Linked DNA regions of Homo sapiens: all the other regions are linked to region 4. Evidence: promoter capture Hi-C in 16 types of primary human blood cells and fetal thymus (Javierre and others, 2016). All regions are on one chromosome and are shown on one strand. The core of a region is centred on a gene start or on the middle of the fragment in contact, and the rest is flanking DNA. Distances in the headings are between cores, read along the strand shown. Region 1 holds the start of CNOT2 (CCR4-NOT transcription complex subunit 2). Region 2 holds the start of LYZ (lysozyme). Region 3 overlaps CCT2 (chaperonin containing TCP1 subunit 2). Region 4 holds the start of TMBIM4 (transmembrane BAX inhibitor motif containing 4).

Region 1 (5,055 bases), core at 186-2,685, 4.1 Mb after region 4:
ATGTGTTGTTCCTCCTCGAATTTTCCTGAAGTGAAAAAAAAACAGTGAAGTAGAGTGTTTGATGAAATGAATAACCAAGCAAAACATTTTCTACCTACACCAGTACCACTAGGAGTTGAAATAAATTCACACAATGTCTGCTGATATGTCAAAACACCTTACCTTCAAAAACATGACAGTTACCTTTTATTTTATAGTATGCTTGTGTTTCTTCCTATTTCTTGCTTTTGACCTTCAATGATAAATGTAAACTGGATTACAGTGATTCTTTTGTAAGTAAAAGGTGACTTTTTAAAAGAAACAACCAATGGAAATAGAAATTTTATTTACTTCAAATTAACTGTACTTTACTCAAATAGAAAAGAATAATTTTCACATTATGAAGCTACACAATTCCAAAATACACATGCTGAGGCTCTTTTTAAGTCCGAATTGTCTAGTAATTACAAAAAAGTGAAGAGTTTACAGATATACAAGGAAATAAAGGCGAATTATTGCAAAGAAAACAAGTTTAATTTCACTTTGAATGACAACGATTTTTCTGGAAAGCAGATACTTCACTCCTTTAAGTTTCCACCCAAGCCACAATAATTTCAAACGGTCTTGCGGATGACCCAGCTGGTCACTCTTGTTTATGTGGGGACTGGAGGTAATGAGAGCCAAAAAAAGTGCTATAAACCTAATTTGGCTAGAGCAAGTTCACACGACACGACCGTGCTTTAAAAACTTGCTCTCCATTATGTACTTCCTTCCATCAGGTTGGGGAAAAAAAAATGGTGGGGATGGTGAGTAAACACACCAGTGGTTTCATCAGAGGGGAACTCACTACTCAGGAGGTGACGGTGACGTGGTGCCGGTCCCTGAAGTACGCGCACAAGCTCCGGAGGTTGCGGGAGCTGAGGGAGGAAACAGGGACACGATCAGATTCGCTCCAGGTGGCGGGAGTGAGGAGGGGAGGAGTGACGAGGCGGACGTGCGGGGGCGGGGGTGTCCAACACAAACACAAACACAAACACGAACACGAACACGCTCAGCGTCCCCGGGGAGGGCGGACTGAAGCCACCTCACCATTCATCGCCCCTGGACCCCGCAGTCCCCCTCGGACTCAGGGCCAGAGCCTTCTGCGAAGCAACCTAGCCCCAGGGAAACGGTAGCGGCCGCAGAAGCCCCGCTCTCTGTAACGGCCGCGGAGGAGCAGCAAGCCTCCCTGTGAGTCGGTGGGAGACAAGACGGAGCGGCGGTAAGGGCGGTAGGGAAGTGAAGCGCCTCTCTCCACCTTGTTAGAAGCGCGCTGAAAGCGGCCTGCCTACCCACCCCATCGCTGCCGTTTTGCAGTCGTCGCTCCCACCTTCCGCTGCCGCCTGGAGGGAAGCCGGAGCGACGGGGGTCACGGCGGCGGTCAGAGGGTAAAGGTCTTGCTCCCAGCAGCCTCCGCGGTGGATACGTCGCCATCTTGGATCCGCGGGACAAGAAAATTCATGCGGTGAGTTTTTGGTAAATTTTCGGAAGTCTGGCAGCGGGGCGCGCGGCGGGGGCGGCAGATTCGGGGCCCCCGCAAGGCGGGGGAATGCCCCGGGGCCGGTCCGGTCGCGCCCAGGGTCCGCCGGTAGCGTCCCGGCCCACCGCTTCCCGTTGCTTTTGTCTCGGCTCCAATCGAGAGACGGAGAGCGGAGCGGGCGGGGAGGGGGGTGGCGGCGGTGGAGGGAGGGAGGGGGTGTGTATGGGGGTGGTGGTGGACCGGACGTAAAGCGTCGCTGTACTCGGGCCGCTGCAGCAGCAGCAGCTCCAGATCCTAGGCCCGGTCCCATCCGCGAGTGGTGGGGCTTCCCCAGACTCCACTCCCCTAGGCTCCCGCCAGCGCGGAGGAGCCGCTGCCGCCGCGCTGCTTCCTGGGGGAGAAGAGAAGGCGGCAGCGGCCGTGGCCGTGGCCGACGAGCTCGAGCCCGCTTTAGACGGCTCTGCCGCCTTCCCGGCAGCTGGTGCTGTCTGTGGCTTCTTACCTTCTCTCAATACACGTATATCATCTGCCAGTTATGTGTATTTCTGTTAGTGTGTTTGCAAGTGTCAGATGGGAGACACTGGACTGGCTAACGGGTGTCAGGATCCTGCAGGCCCTGGGATACCGAAGGCTGTGCATGGTGGAGGGAGAAGGAATGCAACTGCGATGCCGCCTCTGCCACCGCACCAGGAAGGTGAAGCTTCCGTAGTGTCGTAGACTGAGTCCGGATGATCCTGGGGCGGCGGAGGAACCACAGACGCTTCTGTCTGTGAAGTTGCAAGTCCTGGGTTTCTACTTCCGCAGGGGCCTCTCCACCTTTTGCTGTCGTAGGTCTCGCTTAAAAGTTTAACAGAAGAAAAGAGTAGGGTTAAAAGAGGCCTTTGTAGTTCTTCATTGAAGCACTGTTGTCTGTCCGGGTGAAAGCTGATAACTCTTGGTAACTGTGGTCCTTAGCAAAAGAGAATTGGAGTTTTCTTTTATACAAAGTATTTCCAAGGTTTTAGACCTTATATTTATTCCAGGCCTGTAGGTACGGTATTACTACCACAAAAGTCTTACATTAAGGGTACCACCCTCTCAGAGGGAACCTAAACATCAACTTCCTTCGAATCCTTGGAGACATCTTCACTTTTCAACATCCGGAAGACTGAGTGCAACATATTTTGTTTCATTTTCATAAAAGTCTTGGTCAGAGAATCCCACTCCTTTTAAAATCGTTTGGGCAATTCCTCATAATTAAGTACACTGCTTTGAACCCTTAGTTCTTGGCGAAATGGTAAAAAGTACTCAGTTAAAATCAGTTCACGAGGGAGGCCAACTTGAATTTAAGGTTCAAAGTTGAACATATTTAGTGTCATGCTTAATATTAGGAATTTTTAGAGCTCGGAATCATAAGTGTGACTGTTGATTTCCCTTTTGAAGCAATATAAATGGAAAGAATAAAGTATGGGGTGAGGGATGAGATAGAAATTTTAAAGTATCCATTTACATGCAAGGTTGATGTTGAGTTTGGGAATGCTTGGCATAATTGACAACAGTTCTTTCCAAACGTCAATGAATAAATCTCACAATTTTGTAAGGTAACTATTGCAGATTGAAAGGGTTAAGAATCATAGTTGGCTGAAATGGTTAAGTGTCTATATTCACATCCCAGTTCATTGAAATGTTTTATAATGGACCAAGATAATTAGTAAGCTCTGTATGTTGAATTTGTTTAGTTTGTAGTTCTATTATAATGTTAAATCTAAAGAAAAAAATACAAAATACACTTAAAGACAAAACATGTTCCACTCTACTCACTTATTTCTTGACTTTGTAAGATCCTTACTGTAAAAAAGGTACTTTTCTCTCATATTTTCTGAGAGCTTGAATTGTAATAATTTTTGTGAATACTTTGTATTTTAGAGAGGAAGTGAGAAACTGCTGAAGTTTTTTTTGCATCTTGATTAGTGCTTTATCAATACAAATAAGTTAATGTAAACATTTGTTGGCAGGAATCTTTTTCTAAGTATACAATGTAGAGATATCTGTAACCTAATCTGATCTCAGGGAATGAGAATTGCCTGTTTAACCAAGCAACAAATACAGCCTATACAATTTTTCAATTTCTATAATACTTTAATTTACATGGTGGAAAAATGAGGGCAAAATGCTTGTGTATGAGTGATTTATATCCCCAAGTACCTGCTCTTGAAGATAAAACTCAGATTGTGGCTTATCTTCTGATGCTGGGCAAAAAACAAAAACAAAAAAATTCAGAATGATACAACTTCCCATATACCTCCCTACAAGAACTAATTACCTTTGTTTTTGCTTTATAACTTTGGATGTTGCACTTTTTGATTTTTCAGAGATGCTTTACAGTTATTGTAATCTGAAAATTATTTGTTCAAAAGTAAATAAAATTTTCAGGTGTATGAATAGATTTTATTAGAAGTGATTCTAACCCAGTTCTCATTTGTATTCCTTTAGTAGATACTGGTGTTAAAAGTACCTGTATTTTGAAAGACCATTACAGAATTTTTTACAACCTGTATAAGTTATAGTTTTATCTTTTCTAGTGACAGACTTACTTCATAAGATTTTCTGATAATATGAATAAAATGTATGCTTCACATGTATATATGAAATAATGAGTAAGCATTAATAGACCAATGAAAAGAACTTAGCTTACAATTTATTTTCTTGCTCTTTAAAAGCAGTGGTAAATAATAGCTTTTTTTTGTTGTTAAAATTTGTAACTGTAGAAAGTTCATTCTGTTGGGATCACATATTTGAAGGCAAACTAACAATGCCATGTGCTTGCTTGAATAGGCATTTGAGGACAGGTTATTTTCCTGAGATTTCAGGAAAATATACCACCAAACATTTATGATGTTATTTGTTACCTGGATCTGTAGTGGATTTTGTAACACAAAGAGGCAGAATATCCAGGGTACCAGGTAGGGCAGTTTAGGGGCAGAGTTAATATGAGGTGTACTGTAATGTTTGAGTGGAATTACATACAGTGTTAATCAAGAGATCTAGTGCTATGGTAGAACTTATTCTGCTTGATGATACAGGTGACTGTTCTTCCTTACTAAGAGCAGTTTCTACCTGTGATACTTAAAGGGATTGAATTTCACTGTGACTTATATCAGATATTTTGAAAAGAGCTGTGCTAAAGTTGATGTCATTGTAGAAAGTTTGCCTTGAAGTGGAATGAAAGTTAGGTTTTTATTTCTTTGGTTTTTCTGTTTGACATCCTTTGATTTCTATTTTAGAATTCAACTCTTATGACTAATCATGCTGATGTGGTTTGTTCATTTATTTTCTTTGTCTATACTATTAGGAATGTCCTGGAAATAGAATTTGTACTGTGTTTTCTGAGAGCTTGTTCTCTGAAATACAGATGCAAATCTGTTGGTATCTGTTGGTATATCCCTTGGGGGTGTGCTGCATTATAAAGTAATAAAACAGTTTACAATGTTTGCTTTTTGTCAAGAGCTTATGACATATAATATGGAAATACAAAAAAGTGAATTATTTAGGAAAAAATGGGAAATTTTTCCTTTTCT
Region 2 (5,603 bases), core at 1,459-3,958, 3.2 Mb after region 4:
GTACATACAAAATTTCTGAGGAAGAAAAATTATCTCTGCCCTCAAATCATGCTTACTTGCTATTTTATTTTTAAATAGATTGCTCATTAAACCTACCTCAAATGGAATGACAGGATTATAAATGGATGTTATAACTGCCCTTAACTTCTTCCCCAGGGGAGATAATTAAGGGGATCAAAAACACTTCTTCCCTTTGCAGTAGTCACATGATAACATGCTATCACTTTGGTTCAGGTTGGCAAGCAAATATTTGCTTGTTCCACTTCCAAGAAAGTATAAGGTCATAACTATTTAAACATTTGAAAACAAAAATTAATCTTATCAGCATAAGGCTGAAACCAGCATATGTAATAACTGGCTGTTCTTTAGTATTGAGTTGGGAACGGCATAAAGGGGACCAAAGACTAACTCTTTTTTTCCTTCTTTCTTTCTTTTTTTTATTTTTGAGACACAGTCTCACTCTAGTTGCCCAGGCTGCAGTGCAGTGGTACGATCTCAGCTAACTGCAGCCTCAACCTCCTGGGTTCAGGTGATCCTCTGACCCTCAACCTCCCGAGTAGCTGGGACTACAAGCACATTTTTAAATTTTTTTTTATTTTTAGTAAATATAGGGTTTTGCCATGTTGCCCAGGCTGGTCTCCAACTCCTGGTCTCAAGCAGTCCTCCTGCCTCGGCCTCCCATAGTGCTGGAAATACAGGCATGAGCCACTGCGCCCAGCCAAGACTAACTCTTTTAATTGGTTTCTGTCTCTTTGGGTCCTGAAAATCTGTCTCACTATTTATTATTATTATTATTATTATTATTATTTGAGACAGAGTCTCACTCTCTTTCCCAGGCTGGAGTGCAATGGCACAATCTCGGCTCACTGCAACCTCCGCCTCCTCGGTTCAAGCGATTCTCCTGCCTCAGCATCCCAGGTAGCTGGGATTATAGGCACCCACCACCACACCCAACTAATTTTTCTATTTTTCGTAGAGACGGGGTTTCACCATGCTGGCCAGGCTGGTCTCGAACTCCTGACCTCAGGTGATCAGCCTGCCTTGGGCTTTCAAAGTGCTGGGATTACAGGCATGAGCCACCGCAGCTGGCCATTTTTTTTTTCTTTCTTTTTTTTTTTTTTTTTTTTGAGACAGAGTCTCACTCTGTTGCCCAGGCTGGAGTGCAGTGGTGTGATCTCAGTTCACCACAACCTCCGCCTCCCGGGTTCAAGTAATTCTCCTGCCTCAGCCTCCCAAGTAGCTGGAATTATAGGCGCACCACCACGCCCAGCTAATTTTGTATTTTTAGTAGAGACGGAGTTTCACCATGTTGGCCAGGCTGGTCTTGAACGCCTGACCTCAGGTGATCCACCCACCTCAGCCTCCCAAAGTGCTGGGATTACAGGCATGAGCCACTGCACCTGGCCCTATTTATTATTGAAGAATCAAAATTAGGCCTAGCCTGAAAAATGAGATTATTCTTGATTTTTGAACAGGGTCCTTGAACTGTCATTTAAAACCAAATCTGGTAATCTTTAGAGGCCACTGATGAAAAATAAGGGTAACTACAAAGTGATGACACTTTGTGTGGCTCAGAATCTGTCCTCTTAGGCAGATACAGAAGTGCAGTTCTTTTTGAGTTCTGGTAGCATTGTTTTAAAAGCTGTGCACAGCCTCCTGAGATTGCTATTTTCAAAGGTAGCATTTAGTTGGATATATGTTTGGGTAGGTTTTATTTTTAAAATGCTGTTGCTTTCTAATGACCCCTTATGTTCTAATATGGAAAGGGGAGGCAAAGTATTGTGAAAAGTAGTTGGTAAAGTAGGCCGGATGTGGTGGCTCACACCTGTAATCCCAGCACTTTGGAAGGCCGAGGCGGGCGGATCACGAGGTCAAGAGATCCAGACCATCCTGGCCACATGGTGAAACCCTGTCTCTACTAAAAATACAAAAATTAGCTGGGCATGGTGGTACATGCCTGTAGTCCCAGCTACCTGGGAGGCTGAGGCAGGAGAATTGCTTGAACCCGGGAGGCAGAGGTTGCAATGAACTGAGATTGCGCCACTGCACTCCAGCCTGGTGACAGAGTAAGACTCCATCTCAAAAAAAAAAAAAAAAAGGTAGTTGGTAAAGTTGTTCACATGAACCTTATTTATAATAGTAAAACACTGATTTATAATAATAAAAAATTTGCTATAGTAACAAAAAGAGTCTAGAGTAAGAAACTAGCTGAGCAACGTGGTGTCACACTATACACCCATTAAGACAACAGGCACATGTGTCATGTCCATTTTGTGGAAAAGATATGTAAAATAATTTTAAGTAAAAAAGATAAATATAAAAAAGTGAATGCATACAAAACAATTTCACAAAATTGAATGTTACTCAAAAATCACAGCTCATTTTAAGCTGCACAAAATAGTCATTTTTTTCTTTATAATTGCTCAAATTCATAATCAAACAGAAGAAAGTTCCTGTCTTGGAAGTAGTGCTATGCCCCAATTCTTCCAGAGCCAGTACTTTAAACAATTCCATTTCATTATTTTCCTGTAGACTAATTCTTAGGACATCAGCATATCTCTCTTCAAGCATTAAAAAAATCTCTTTAGAGTCAGTGGATCAATAGACAGTTCCTGTTTTCCACACAACTGAAAGGGTGGAGCCCCCAAACCACAAGGGGAAGAAGGAAGTTAAAAGATGTTAAATACTGGGGCCAGCTCACCCTGGTCAGCCTAGCACTCTGACCTAGCAGTCAACATGAAGGCTCTCATTGTTCTGGGGCTTGTCCTCCTTTCTGTTACGGTCCAGGGCAAGGTCTTTGAAAGGTGTGAGTTGGCCAGAACTCTGAAAAGATTGGGAATGGATGGCTACAGGGGAATCAGCCTAGCAAACTGTAAGTCTACTCTCCATAATTCCAGAGAATTAGCTACGTATGGAACAGACACTAGGAGAGAAGGAAGAAGAAGAAGGGGCTTTGAGTGAATAGATGTTTTATTTCTTTGTGGGTTTGTATACTTACAATGGCTAAAAACATCAGTTTGGTTCTTTATAACCAGAGATACCCGATAAAGGAATACGGGCATGGCAGGGGAAAATTCCATTCTAAGTAAAACAGGACCTGTTGTACTGTTCTAGTGCTAGGAAGTTTGCTGGGTGCCTGAGATTCAATGGCACATGTAAGCTGACTGAAAGATACATTTGAGGACCTGGCAGAGCTCTCTCAAGTCCTTGGTATGTGACTCCAGTTATTTCCCATTTTGAACTTGGGCTCTGAGAGCCTAGAGTGATGCAGTATTTTTCTTGTCTTCAAGTCCCCTGCCGTGATGTGGGATTTTTATTTTTATTTTTATTTTATTTTATTTTATTTTTAAAGACAGTCTCACTGTGTGGCCCAGGCTGGAGTGCAGTGGCATGATCTCAGCTCACTGCAACCTCTGCCTTCTGGGCTCAAGTGATTCTCGTGCTTCAGCCTTCTGAGTAGCTGTGACTACAGGTGTGTACCACCACACCCAGCTAATTTTTTGTATTTTCAGTACAGATGGGGTTTCACCATGTTGGCCAAGCTGGTCTTGAACTCCTGGCCTCAAATGATCTGCCCACCTCAGCCTCCCAAAGTGGTAGGATTACAGGTGTGAACCACTGCACCCAGCCGACATGGGATTTTTAACAGTGATGTTTTTAAAGAATATATTGAATTCCCTACACAAGAGCAGTAGGAACCTAGTTCCCTTCAGTCACTCTTTGTATAGGATCCCAGAAACTCAGCATGAAATGTTTTATTATTTTTATCTACTCTACTTGATTAACTATCTTTCATTTTCTCCCACACAATTCAAGATGTGCCATGAGGAAAAGTTATTTTATAGTTTAGTACATAGTTGTCGATGTAATAATCTCTGTAGTTTTCAGATTGAATTCAGACATTTCCCCTCAATAGCTATTTTTGAATGAATGAGTGAAGGGATGAAATCACGGAATAGTCTTGTTTTCAAGATTCTAACTTGATATCCAAATTCACCTTTAGATATTATAAGAAAATTTCTATCAGAAAATCCTTATGTTTTTCTGATTAAAAAAAGCATTTTTCCATCAGCCTATGTATCTGCTATGAATTTACAAAATCTACTCAACAGCTCTGTTGATTTTTCTGTTCTTGGCTGAATGTTGCCTGAGGGATGGGAGCACGGGAAGGGTAAAAGCAATGGAACAAACATGTATTTTAATATTTTAAAAGTATGTTATATTGTTCGTTGGTGTTACAAGATGATTTGCATTACAAAAGGATTCTCTTACAAGTCCCTTATCTTAACACTAAAGTGCTAAGATATTTTATAAGTAAATCTTTATACTTATAAAACAAATCAGTAAAATAGAAGTAGCTAAGTAGAACTGATTTTGCTATAGAGTATAAGTCACTTAGTGTTGCTGTTTATTACTAAAAATAAGTTCTTTTCAGGGATGTGTTTGGCCAAATGGGAGAGTGGTTACAACACACGAGCTACAAACTACAATGCTGGAGACAGAAGCACTGATTATGGGATATTTCAGATCAATAGCCGCTACTGGTGTAATGATGGCAAAACCCCAGGAGCAGTTAATGCCTGTCATTTATCCTGCAGTGGTAAGACAAGCTAATATTTGACCAATCTGGTTATACTTACAAGAATTGAGACTCAATACAAATGAAAAAGCCTTGAAAGGTTCATGAGGGACCTAGAAAAACTACATCTCAACTTCCAGAAAGTCATTATTATTTTCCTCATAATTCCCTGAGTAAGAAATTAAAGAAGTGGTATCATAAAAGGTTGATGTTTTTTAATATACAGAAGTTTCTGGAATGACCTATTAATTTACTGTCAATGGCCTTACTGATGCTTTGTCCAGAACAATGCCATTGCTCCTGCTTACTTTGGGGAGGTTTTGGGATAATTTAGTTGTATGGTCCTTTTTCAATTGTTTTACTTTTTTTTTTATGAAATGTTCTAAATGTATAGAAAATTAGAGACATTAGTATAATAAACAGCCATATGCCCATTATGCACTTTAAAAGTTGTTAACATTTTGCCATAGTTGCTTCTTCTATGCCTTTTTTTTTTTTTTTTTTTTTTTTTTTTTTTTGCTGAGAGTTTTTTGTTTGGTTTTGTTTTGTTTTATTTTGAGACAGGGTCTCCCTGTCCCCAGGCTGTAGTGCAGTGGCACCATCACAGCTCACTGCAGCCTCAAGTGATCATCCCACCACAGCCTCCCAAGTAGCTGGGACTACAGGTGTGCACCACCATGCCTGGCAAATTTTTGAAATTTTTAGTACAGGCAAATTCTGTGTTGCCCAGGCTGGTCTTGAACTCCTGAGTTCAAGCAATCTTCCCACCTCAGCCTCCTTAAGTGCTGGAATTACAGGCGTTAGCCACTGTACCTGGCTACTGCTGAGAGACTTTTAAGTGAATTAGGAACATGATGATATTCCATTTCTAAATTCTTTAGTTTACATCTTCAAAAAATACAGTTCCTGTAGAATTATTATTGTAAATAACAAATTAACTTAAGGATTTATTTATTTGGAGTGAAACAAATATTTTACTGAACTCATAAAAATAGAAATACCATGTGGAATCCTCAGTGTCAAA
Region 3 (5,048 bases), core at 155-2,654, 3.4 Mb after region 4:
TGCCTCTTGCCCTACCCCTGCTCCGCCGTGCTCTTGCCACCCCACTGCTTCCTCTGTCCTGCTAGGGTCGTAGGCTCCGTTTCTGTCTCCCCGGCCCTCCGCACATGGTGCGAGCCATGCGCGGGGCGTGCGGCCTGCGCCAGGCCAGCCGGTGGAGCTCACCACGAGGGGGAGGGGTGGACCGCAAAGCCAGCGTCTCCTTGTGCCTAGGTCTTTGCATAGTCCCGGCAGCCCAGGTCCGCGCCTCACCCGGAGCGAAGAAATTTCTAGTGTGGGACCCGCTCCGCCCTCCTTCTAGGGGCGGAGCCTGGAGCGACGGGGTCTGAGCCATCAGAGGGTGGAGGGGCCGCAGCCTTCCGAGGGTGGAAGATGGAGGCCGCGTTCCCTCGCCCGCCCGGCAGGCGTCACCTTGATGGCCTGCAACCCCTCCCTGCCTCATTCTTAGTTCAAGATCGTCTTTAGTCTCGCTGTACGTAACTGTCAATCTCGCTGGTGTATAATTTATACTCCCGGGGGCCTTGTAAATCCGAAAAGCCATGTCGCTCTCCTACAAGTCCCTCTCTCCCACTTAAATGCTTTCTCCGATGATGGAAGCTTCATTTGATTGAAAACATTGTTGTAAATGAGTTTTCTCTTAGATGTCCACTTGTAAGACTAGTGGAAGGCACCTCAGTGTATGTGTTAGAGTATTGGTACTTAAACGGAATGCCTCTTGGTTTTCCTTTTCAGGCGTCCCTTTCCCTTGCACCTGTTAACATCTTTAAGGCAGGAGCTGATGAAGAGAGAGCAGAGACAGCTCGTCTGGTAAGCCTTGTTCTAAGCATTGTTTTAAAGATAAAACTGGAGGCCAGGCGCGGTGGCTTACTCCTGTAATCCCAGTACTTTGGGAGGCCGAGGTAGGCGGATGAACTGAGGTCAGGAGTTCGAGACCAGCCTGGCCAACATGGTAAAACCCCGTTTCTACTAGAAATACAAAAATTAGCCGGGCGTGGTGATGGGCACCTGTAATCCCAGCTACTCGGGAGGCTGAGGCAGGAGGATCGCTTGAACCCAGGAGGCGGAGGTTGCAGTGAGCTGAGATCGCGCCATTGCACTCCAGCCTGGGCGACAGAGCGACACTCTGCCTCAAAAAAAAAAAAAAGTAAATAAAGATAAAACTGTACTTGAAGACTGTAAAGTTGATTCTGATAATCTCCTTGGTTTTTACTCCAGACTTCTTTTATTGGTGCCATCGCCATTGGAGACTTGGTAAAGAGCACCTTGGGACCCAAAGGCATGGTAAGAAAAATAGAAAAGTTTTATATTTTAATATTGTTTTAGAGCGCTTGGTGGAAATATAATAACAAGCGTATTAAAATGCTTTTTAATCTTTAAAACGTTTAATTATAAAAGACAAGTATGTTCTCCTTAGTAAAAATCAGAGTCCCCAGAATCACCATCCCCAATCCCATGCCCCTCCCCAATGACAAGTACTGTTATCATTTGCACGTACATCTTCTAATATTCTGTTTATGTAGAAGTATGTGTACTTCATTATGTATTTTATACTCATGTAACATACTGTTTTATAAAACAGATACTATTTATCAATACTTTTTTGTAGCTTGCTCTTTTAAATTCCTTTCAGTGTAAGTAGATAACACTGCCCCTTTAACTGTCAAATATTATCCTGTACCTTAATTATTTTATAATTTAATTATGGCTGTATTGATAGTTTCTTTCCATTGTTTTTGCAGTTACGGTGTTGAAACAAAAACTAGTGTCTACCTGTGCTTCTAGTGTTTCTAGGGGTAGATACATGGTTTGGTTACGTGGTGTATGTATTGAAAACATTTGATGAATGGATACCACAAAATAGCTATCCAGAGTGTTTATACACTAGCACTGTGTGAGAATACTGATTGATCCATGCATTCTTCAAGATGTGCTTATGTCTTAACTTGAACCAATTATGTTCCCTTTAGGACAAAATTCTTCTAAGCAGTGGACGAGATGCCTCTCTTATGGTAACCAATGATGGTGCCACTATTCTAAAAAACATTGGTGTTGACAATCCAGCAGCTAAAGTTTTAGTTGGTAAGTCTGAATATACTTTTTCACCAACCTAATAATACTGTTTGTTAACATTTTTGAAATAACTTTATAAATAGGCTGTGTTGACCAATCGTACTGTCAATTGATGTCCACTAGTTGTTAATTATCGTTGTTAAAATACAAGCTTCAGGAGTGCCCGTATGTTGGTGGTAAAACTGTTGCATTTCAGACCTCAGAGTTCCAAATAATTTGTTGAATGAGGAACCCTGGTAAGTTTAGATTGGTAGTGAATATTTTTGGAGAATTTAGTAAGCAAAGAAGCAATTTTGAGTTAATAACTAATTTCTTTTTCTAGATATGTCAAGGGTTCAAGATGATGAAGTTGGTGATGGCACTACCTCTGTTACCGTTTTAGCAGCAGAATTATTAAGGGTAAGAGCAACTAAGCAACTCTTTTTTCCTACTGTGTTTTTGAGTATCAGAGGTAATCTAGTCCTTACTTCCTCTGTCTTTACTATTGAGGAGTGCTTAATAATTTTCTATTTATAACTTTTGTTTTATAACTTTATTAATAGGAAGCAGAATCTTTAATTGCAAAAAAGATTCATCCACAGACCATCATAGCGGGTTGGAGAGAAGCCACGAAGGCTGCAAGAGAGGCGCTGTTGAGTTCTGCAGTTGATCATGGGTTTGTATAGCAAAGTACTACTGTTCTAAACATTTAGTGTTCTTTCATAACATGCTTAATGCAAGAAATCTATAGGACACTGAAAAGCATACACAAAGATCATCTTGCTGCCTCACCCCACTCCAACAGTCAAACCTACATCAGCCTCCAGAGATAGCCACTAAAGTTAAGTTTGGGTTTTTAGTCTTTTTGTATATATCATCAAAATATACAAATAAAGCAAATAGTATAATACTGTATAGAGAATTTGTTAGCCTCTTTTTAACCTAGTTAAATATTAAGCACATTTTTGGATGTCAATTTTCTGTGCAGTATTTTAATAGAGTTACACATTTGAATATTTGGCTAGAATGACTGTATTAACCTATCTGTAGGGGGAGATTTGTGTATTTGATGATTTTTAGCATTATAAAATAACTTTGTGACGTTGCGACATAGCCCAAAGGTTTCTAGAAGTGTAATTGTTGGGTCCAAAGGTAAGTGTGTGTGTTTTAAGGCACCCCCAAACCTGGGCTGCACAGCAGGTGAGCAGCAGGTGGAAAAATTGTCTTCCCATGAAACCAGTCCCTGGTGCCAAAAAGGTCCGGGACCACTGTTTTAAGGCACTTCTATTTATTTGCCCATTCACAACTGTATAATAATACTTGTTTTTCACGTCCTTTTATTTATTTATTTATTTTGAGACGGAGTCTCGCTCTTAGAGTTGCCCAGAATGGAGTGCAGTGGCACGACTTCGGCTGACTGCAACCTCTGCCTCCCGGGTTCAAGCGATTCTCTTGCCTCAGCCTCCCAAGTAGCAGGGACTACAGGCATGTGCCATCATAGCCAGCTAATTTTGTATTTTTAGTGTAGATGGGGTTTCACCATGTTGCTCAGGCTGGTCTTGAACTGACCTCAAGTGATCCATCCTCCTCAGTCTCCCAAAGTGCTAGGATTACAGGCGTGAGCCACTGTGCCCGGCCATTTCTCACATTCTTGCCAACATTAGACTTTTGCATGCTTGTGTGGCCCCCACCCCTCTTTTTTTTTTGGCATTTTGCCAGTTTGGTGGGGAAAATAACATCTTTAATTTGTGTTTCTTGATTACTGCTGAGGTTTAATTCTTTTCATATAGCTTACAGACTTGATCAGTTAGGGTAAAATTATCTATTGACATGAATATCTAGATAAATTTTGAAAAGTAAAGTAGGGTTAATATGTATATTTGGTTGGTTTTATTTAGTTCCGATGAAGTTAAATTCCGTCAAGATTTAATGAATATTGCGGGCACAACATTATCCTCAAAACTTCTTACTCATCACAAAGACCACTTTACAAAGTTAGCTGTAGAAGCAGTTCTCAGACTGAAAGGCTCTGGCAACCTGGAGGCAATTCATATTATCAAGAAGCTAGGAGGAAGTTTGGCAGATTCCTATTTAGATGAAGGTATGTATGAATGTCAGATACAAGAAGCTTTGATTAGATGCTGAGGGCTGAATACTGAGTGAATTCTGTTTTGAGACCAGTGACCCTTTACAAAGCCAGTGAACTTGAATTTAAGGACATATCATATGTGCAACCATTTTTGTCATTTTATTGACAGTGTACTCCTCTTCCCGCGCTATTCCAGCATTGTTGATGATCTCTAGAGTTTACTTAACTACCATGAAGTTATTTGCAGTCTCTGATAAAGAGGAAATGTTTTCTTTTACTAGAAATCATCTATTCTCAAATGGTACTTTTACCAGGATTATATGTATTCTCCAGGAAGGGTCTGGGTCAGTCAAATCATTGTGTTAGCTGGTTGTTGAGGATGTACAGTTGACCATTGAACAACATGGGTTTGAATTATGTAGGTTCACAATGCAGGTTTTTTCAATAAATATAGTCAGCCCTTTGTGTCCGTGGTTTGCACATGTGCAACCGAACGTGGATGGAAAATGCAGTATTTGCAGGATTTGAAACCCATGTATATAGTGGGCCAGCTTTTCAAATCTGCTGGTTCCAGTCAGCCTGGAACTTAAGTATGTGGGGATTTTGGTGTATGTGGGCGTCTTGGAACCAGTCCCCTTCGTATACTGGGGGATGACTAGTTTTTTTTAGAAAAGAATTAAAAAAAATTTCTTTAACAAATAATTATGTATGTTTATAGGGCAAGAGGATCTAGTTCTTAAAGAGTGATAAATGAGACATAATAAGTACTGCTTTCTTAGTAGTACATTTTTGTTTAGAGTGAAGTTTTCCAGATCATCTTCACATTATATTTACTTCACAAAATGGCCTGTCAAAAAGTATAGGCATTCTTATATAGAGAAGGAAAAAAAAAGAATTAGATGGTGCTTTACAA
Region 4 (5,151 bases), core at 1,538-4,037:
TCATAGAATATACAACACTAAGAGCGAACCTTAACGTAAACCTTGGTCTTGGGTGATAATGAGGTGTCCAGTCTAGGTTCACTGATTGTAACAAACATACCACTCTGGTACAGAACGTTATTAGTGCAAGAGGCTTGGGGAAAAGCAGAAAGGGTATATAAGAACTCTGTTCTTTCTGCTAAATTTTGCTATGAACCTAAAATTGCTTTTAAAAAATTAATTGGGCAAAGGACTTGAATAACATTTCTCCAAGGAAAATGTATAAATGCCCCACACGCATACTTTTAAAATGTGCAACATCATTAAATCATTAGAGAAATGCAAATCAAAACCAAAAGGACATACCACCTCACACTCATTTGATGGCTATTTTCATTTTAAAAAGAAAGAAAAGAACGGAATGTGTTGGCAAGGATGTAGAAAAAGGTGAACCCTTGTGCACTGTTGCTGAGAATGTAAAATGATGTAGCCCCTATCAAAAACAGTATGGCCGTTCCTTAAATAATTAAAAATAGAACTACCACACAATCCAGCAATTCCACTTCTGGGTATATATTCAAAAGAATTAAAGCACGGTCTTGAAGAGGTATGTGCACACCTATATTCATGACAGCACTATTCAAAGTAGTCAAGAGGTAGAAGCAACACAAATGTCCATCAATGGATGAATAAACAAAATTTGGTATATACATACAAAGTACTACTACTGTCTTAAAAAGGAAATTCTGCAGCCAGGTGCAGTGGCTCATGCCTGTAATCCCAGGACTTTGGGAGGCTGAGGTGGGAGGATCGCTTGAGTCCAGGAGTTCAAGATCGGATGGGGCAACATGGAGAAACCCGTCTCTACCAAAAGTACAAAAAAATTAGCCAGGCCTGGTGACCTGCATTTGTAATCCCAACTACTCGAGAGGCTGAGGCGGGAGGATCACCTGAGCCCAGAAGGTAGAGGCTGCAGTGAGCAGTGATCTCACCACTGCACTCCAGCCTCGGTGGCAAAGCGAGACCCTGTCTCAAAAAAAAAAAAAAAGGAAATTCTGACATATGCCACAACATGGATGTATTTGAAGACATTATGCTAATTGAAAAAAGCCAACCACAAAAAAACAAATACTGATTGTATCTAGAGTAGCCAAATTCACAGAGAGAGAAAGTGAAATGGTGGTTCCAGGGACTGGGGGAAGGAAGGAATGGGGAGTTAATAGGTATAGAGTTTCAGTTTTGCAAGATTAAAAAGTTCTGGATATTGGATGGTATATAAGTTTAGTCTAAAGCTATGCCTTTAGATATTTTAAGTTCAGCCTAGGGGTTCTCGGTATATAGTGAACTATAACCTAGTAAACAGGCTGTAACCTACGCTTGAACCAATCACTGAGTTTCAGCCAAAGATGGCCACGTGTTCAAACCATGTTCAAACGGGCAAAAACCAAGCTGTAACCAATCAACTCTTTCTGTACCTCACTTCTATTTTCTGTACCTCACTTTACTTTCTCTCTCCATAAATTTTCTCCCACCAAGCGGCAGGACTCATCACTCTGAACCTTATTCTGGTTCCGGGACCTGCCCAATTCGCAAATCATTCTGTGCTCAAACTCCGTTAGATTTAATGTGTCTAAAGTTTTTCTTTTAACAGTGCACAACCATGTGAATAACTTAACACTACTGAACTATACACTTAAAAATAGTTAAGACGGTAAATTTTATGTTACCTGTATTTTACCACAATTAATTTTTTTTAAAAAAAAGCTGAGTTCACTGGCCAAAATAATTTCAAAATTCAATTCCAAAAATATAAATGCTAGGCACCAAGATTCTTGGTGCATCAGAACTATCTTCATCTTTCCTTTTCCAGAACAAGTTCTAGGCACTAAGATTCTTAGCACATCAGAACTATCTTCATCTTTCCTTTTCCAGAACAAGTTCCAGCTGCCTAAACAGGCTGAAAGTCTGGGGCTGTTTCGGCGATCAAATGACCAAACTAGAGCAGGCAATGGCTTCCACGTAGATGAAGCTGAGCATTTTAAATTCAAAAATTTCTGCCCATTGGCTACTACGTAATAACTTAAAACACAATTTAGACTGACTTAGGAAGCTTCTGTGTTGAGCAACTTCCTCAATAATCCTCAAAGACCTGTTGCATTCTGGGCCCTGCGGAGAGGAAATAGTGCCGTCAGGGAGCTTCCAGCCTAGCACAGGACGGTAAATATAAGCCTGTAACGCGAAACCCCACAGAACAAAAACATCAGGCCGTGGATTCCACTCGTGTGTACGTCAGTCACAGTGATCAACCGACTCATTTCCACGACGTTTCTTTTCACTTCAAGATGCCAAATTCAGGCTGCGGCGGTTTCCATCTGTCCCTTCCTACACCGCGGCGCCCGCTGGGGAGCCGGGGCGCACACAGGACAGCCGCAAGCCTTCTGGGCCTGGCGCCCTCCCACACCCGCTAGGAGGGGAGGAAGCGCCTCCCCGACTCCCTGAGGAGGGCGCCAGTCCTCTGGTACCCGGAGAAGGAGGGCCGGGAGCTCAGTGAGCACTCCCTGTGAGTCCCAGGAGATGGCCGCTCTCCCTCGGAAGCCGGAAGTCGGCTTCTAGAGGCCGAGCAGTGCAGACAAGCGGCTGGGAGGCACTGGAGAGGGGACAACGTACCCATTCGGATGTGCACGGTGGCGGAGGCCACGCTGCTGCCATAGTTGAAGTCGTCCTCGATCGAGGAGCGAGGGTACCGGGGGTCGGGGTCAGCCATGATGGCAACAGCACCCCTACCGGTCCCGGTCCACTAACCGCAACCGCCTCCTCCCCACTTCCGCGAGGAAGAGCCCAGCCCCAGCAAGCCGTGCGGCGTCGGCGGGCGAACACCGAGCGAGTCGATTTTCTCGCTTCAAAAATTCCAGCTGGGCGGAGAAAGCGGGGATGGCTCCGAGTTAGAATGGAAGAGAAAACGGTTTACATTCCCGGCGTCATCTGAAGTGAAACTTTTCTCAACACACTTTTTTTTTTTTTTTTGAGATGGAGTTTCACTCTTGTTGCCCAGGCTGGAGTGCAATGGCACGATCTCGGCTCACCGCAACCTCCGCCTCCCGGGTTCAAGCGGTTCTCCTGCCTCAGCCTCCCGAATAGCTGAGATTACAGGCGCCTGCCACCACGCCAGGCTAATTTTTTTATATTTTTAGCAGAGACGAGGTTTCACCATGTTAGCCAGGATGGTCTCGATCTGCTGACCTCGTGATCCGCCCGCCTCGGCCTCCCAAAGTGCTGAGATTACAGGCGTGAGCCACCGCGCCCAGCCTGAACACACTTTAAGTCCTTTCACCTTGGAGAGTTGCTAAAGTGATAGAACCCATGTCCCAGTCACCCATCCACTCAACAAATACCCATCTCATTCATCCACTTTTTCAATAATCACACCGAGGATGCATTTTTACTTCTATTATTTTAAAATAATAATAATACCTACATTTATTGAGCACTTTCTATAAACCAGGCTTTCTGAATGAAGTAATATTTAATCCTGAAAGGCAAGTAGGAGCCAACCAGAGAAAGAGCAGTGATGTAGGCTGGGCCTCAAGGGACCAACGTCTGCAAAGAGGGAGACGGTGAAGCTCAGCTGGTGTAGGGGACAGGTGGCAAAGAATGAGGCTGGATAGATAAACAAAGGCCAGATCATCCTAGGCCAGAAGTAGAATACATTGAAGAGGGCCATTACCAAAGGCAGAGAAAAGGGGATAAAGTTGTATTACTGTAAGAGAGAGATGATGGTGGCAAATACAATGGATTAGAGTGAATATTCATGATATTGTTGTCATTCCAATATAAAGAGGTGTAGACATACCCAGAGTAGTGTCATCCTAGGGTCCCTTGGAATTGTTTTGATGAGTTTACTCTGATCTACCCACATTGCCCAGTCCTCACCTTAACCACAACACCCGAACACTTAGCAAGTGGAATTCAGAACAGTTGTGGAACAGTCTATTCTAAACTAAATCCTTAAACTTGATGTTCTCAGAAGCCTTTGCCAAAAGAACTAACGTCACTTCCACAATGACAAGAAAAACAAAACAAAACAAAAAAACACTTTATCTTTTATGATTTTACAAACATTTTACAAGCATATCATTTTAATTTGTTTTTGTTGGTTTGTTTTGAGATAGAGTCTCAGTCTGTCACCCAGGCTGGAGTGCGGTGGCTCTATCTCGGCTCACAGCAGCCTTGACCTCCTGAGGTCAGGTGACCACCCCCGGGTAATTTTTTGTATTTTTTGTAGTGACGGAATTTCGCCATGTTGCCCATGCTGGTCTCGAACTTGGGCTCAAGTGATCCCCCTACCTCGACCTCCCAAAGTGCTGAGATCACAGGCGTTAGCCACTGTGTCCGGCCCCTCGTTTTAGTTTAGTTTGTTGAATGGATAGGTGAATGGGATATGGCCTCTATCTCTTTAGTCACTCTCCAGGTGAGAGGACTTAAAAAGCTTGCTGAGAAAAATCTGAGAAAAGTTTTACTTCAGATGACACTGGGAATGTAATCCGTTTTCTCTCCCATCCTAACCCGAAGCCATCCCCTCTTTCTCTGCCCCGCCGTAATAATGGAATTTATTATAGAGGACAAACTGGAGCTAAATTGGGAACCCACCTTTGTATTGACTAAAAACAGCATCAGCAAAGTTTGATCCTTTACCTCTTACCAGTTACAAAAAAAAATAAATTCCAGATAGATTGTGGATATAAATGTGAAAGGCAAAAACAATAAAACTTAAAGAAAATGATACAGGAGAATATGATTTGGAGGAAGGCAAAGATTTCTGAAACCAGATACAAAATAGCACTTAACTTCAAATGAAAAGATTGCCAAATTAAATTATATTAAAATTAGGAATTTCTAGTAATCAAAATATACCATAAGAGAGTGAAAAGGAAGCCATAGAGTAGGGGAAGATATCTGCTATACATATAACCTACCTAAGGCTCCTTTTCAGAATATAAAAACAATTGTTACAAATCCAGACCAAAAAAAGACAGTCAATAGAAAAATAGACAAAAGACTGGAGGCGGGCGCAGTGGCTCATGCCTGTAATCCCAGCACTTTGGGAAGCTGAGGCGGGTGGATCACCTGAGGTCAGGAGTTCGAGACCAGCCTCAACGTGGAGAAATCCCGTCT

What was found. The method cuts DNA at HindIII sites, captures the fragments that hold promoters and counts their contacts. A CHiCAGO score of 5 or more calls a contact.
Region 1: a contact is called between the fragment with the promoter of CNOT2 here and the fragment with the promoter of TMBIM4 in region 4, in 2 of 17 cell types (naive CD8 T cells and naive CD4 T cells). The highest score is 8.1, in naive CD8 T cells.
Region 2: the fragment with the promoter of LYZ here is called in contact with the fragment with the promoter of TMBIM4 in region 4 in 1 of 17 cell types (non-activated CD4 T cells); the score reaches 6.2 in non-activated CD4 T cells.
Region 3: a contact is called between a fragment that was not itself captured here and the fragment with the promoter of TMBIM4 in region 4, in 3 of 17 cell types (non-activated CD4 T cells, naive CD8 T cells and activated CD4 T cells). The highest score is 8.7, in non-activated CD4 T cells.

Annotation. Positions count from the first base shown.
Region 1 is chr12:70,241,998-70,247,052 of GRCh38, forward strand. CNOT2 (CCR4-NOT transcription complex subunit 2) reads left to right here and starts at 1,436. Exons shown (of 16, transcript NM_014515.7): 1 at 1,436-1,483. PRANCR (progenitor renewal associated non-coding RNA) reads right to left here and starts at 1,363. Exons shown (of 5, transcript NR_120460.1): 1 at 1,315-1,363; 2 at 827-896; 3 at 184-232. RefSeq lists enhancers at 722-1,921, 1,096-1,295, 2,026-2,165 and silencers at 855-1,394, 1,466-1,725. The HindIII fragment of the contact is 4,785 bases long and covers 1-2,196 here.
Region 2 is chr12:69,345,673-69,351,275 of GRCh38, forward strand. It overlaps LYZ (lysozyme), which reads left to right and starts at 2,709. Exons shown (of 4, transcript NM_000239.3): 1 at 2,709-2,872; 2 at 4,436-4,600. The coding sequence starts at 2,737. The HindIII fragment of the contact is 11,988 bases long and covers 1-5,603 here.
Region 3 is chr12:69,585,541-69,590,588 of GRCh38, forward strand. It overlaps CCT2 (chaperonin containing TCP1 subunit 2), which reads left to right. Exons shown (of 16, transcript NM_006431.3): 2 at 730-804; 3 at 1,213-1,278; 4 at 1,965-2,076; 5 at 2,390-2,466; 6 at 2,610-2,722; 7 at 3,945-4,147. Among named protein-coding and RNA genes, the nearest start is that of CCT2, 2.6 kb to the left of the region's middle. RefSeq lists an enhancer at 1-289. The HindIII fragment of the contact is 1,624 bases long and covers 593-2,216 here.
Region 4 is chr12:66,167,209-66,172,359 of GRCh38, forward strand. TMBIM4 (transmembrane BAX inhibitor motif containing 4) reads right to left here and starts at 2,788. Exons shown (of 7, transcript NM_016056.4): 1 at 2,647-2,788. The coding sequence starts at 2,743. RefSeq lists enhancers at 1,940-2,039, 2,522-3,046, 2,690-2,769. The HindIII fragment of the contact is 2,376 bases long and covers 2,088-4,463 here.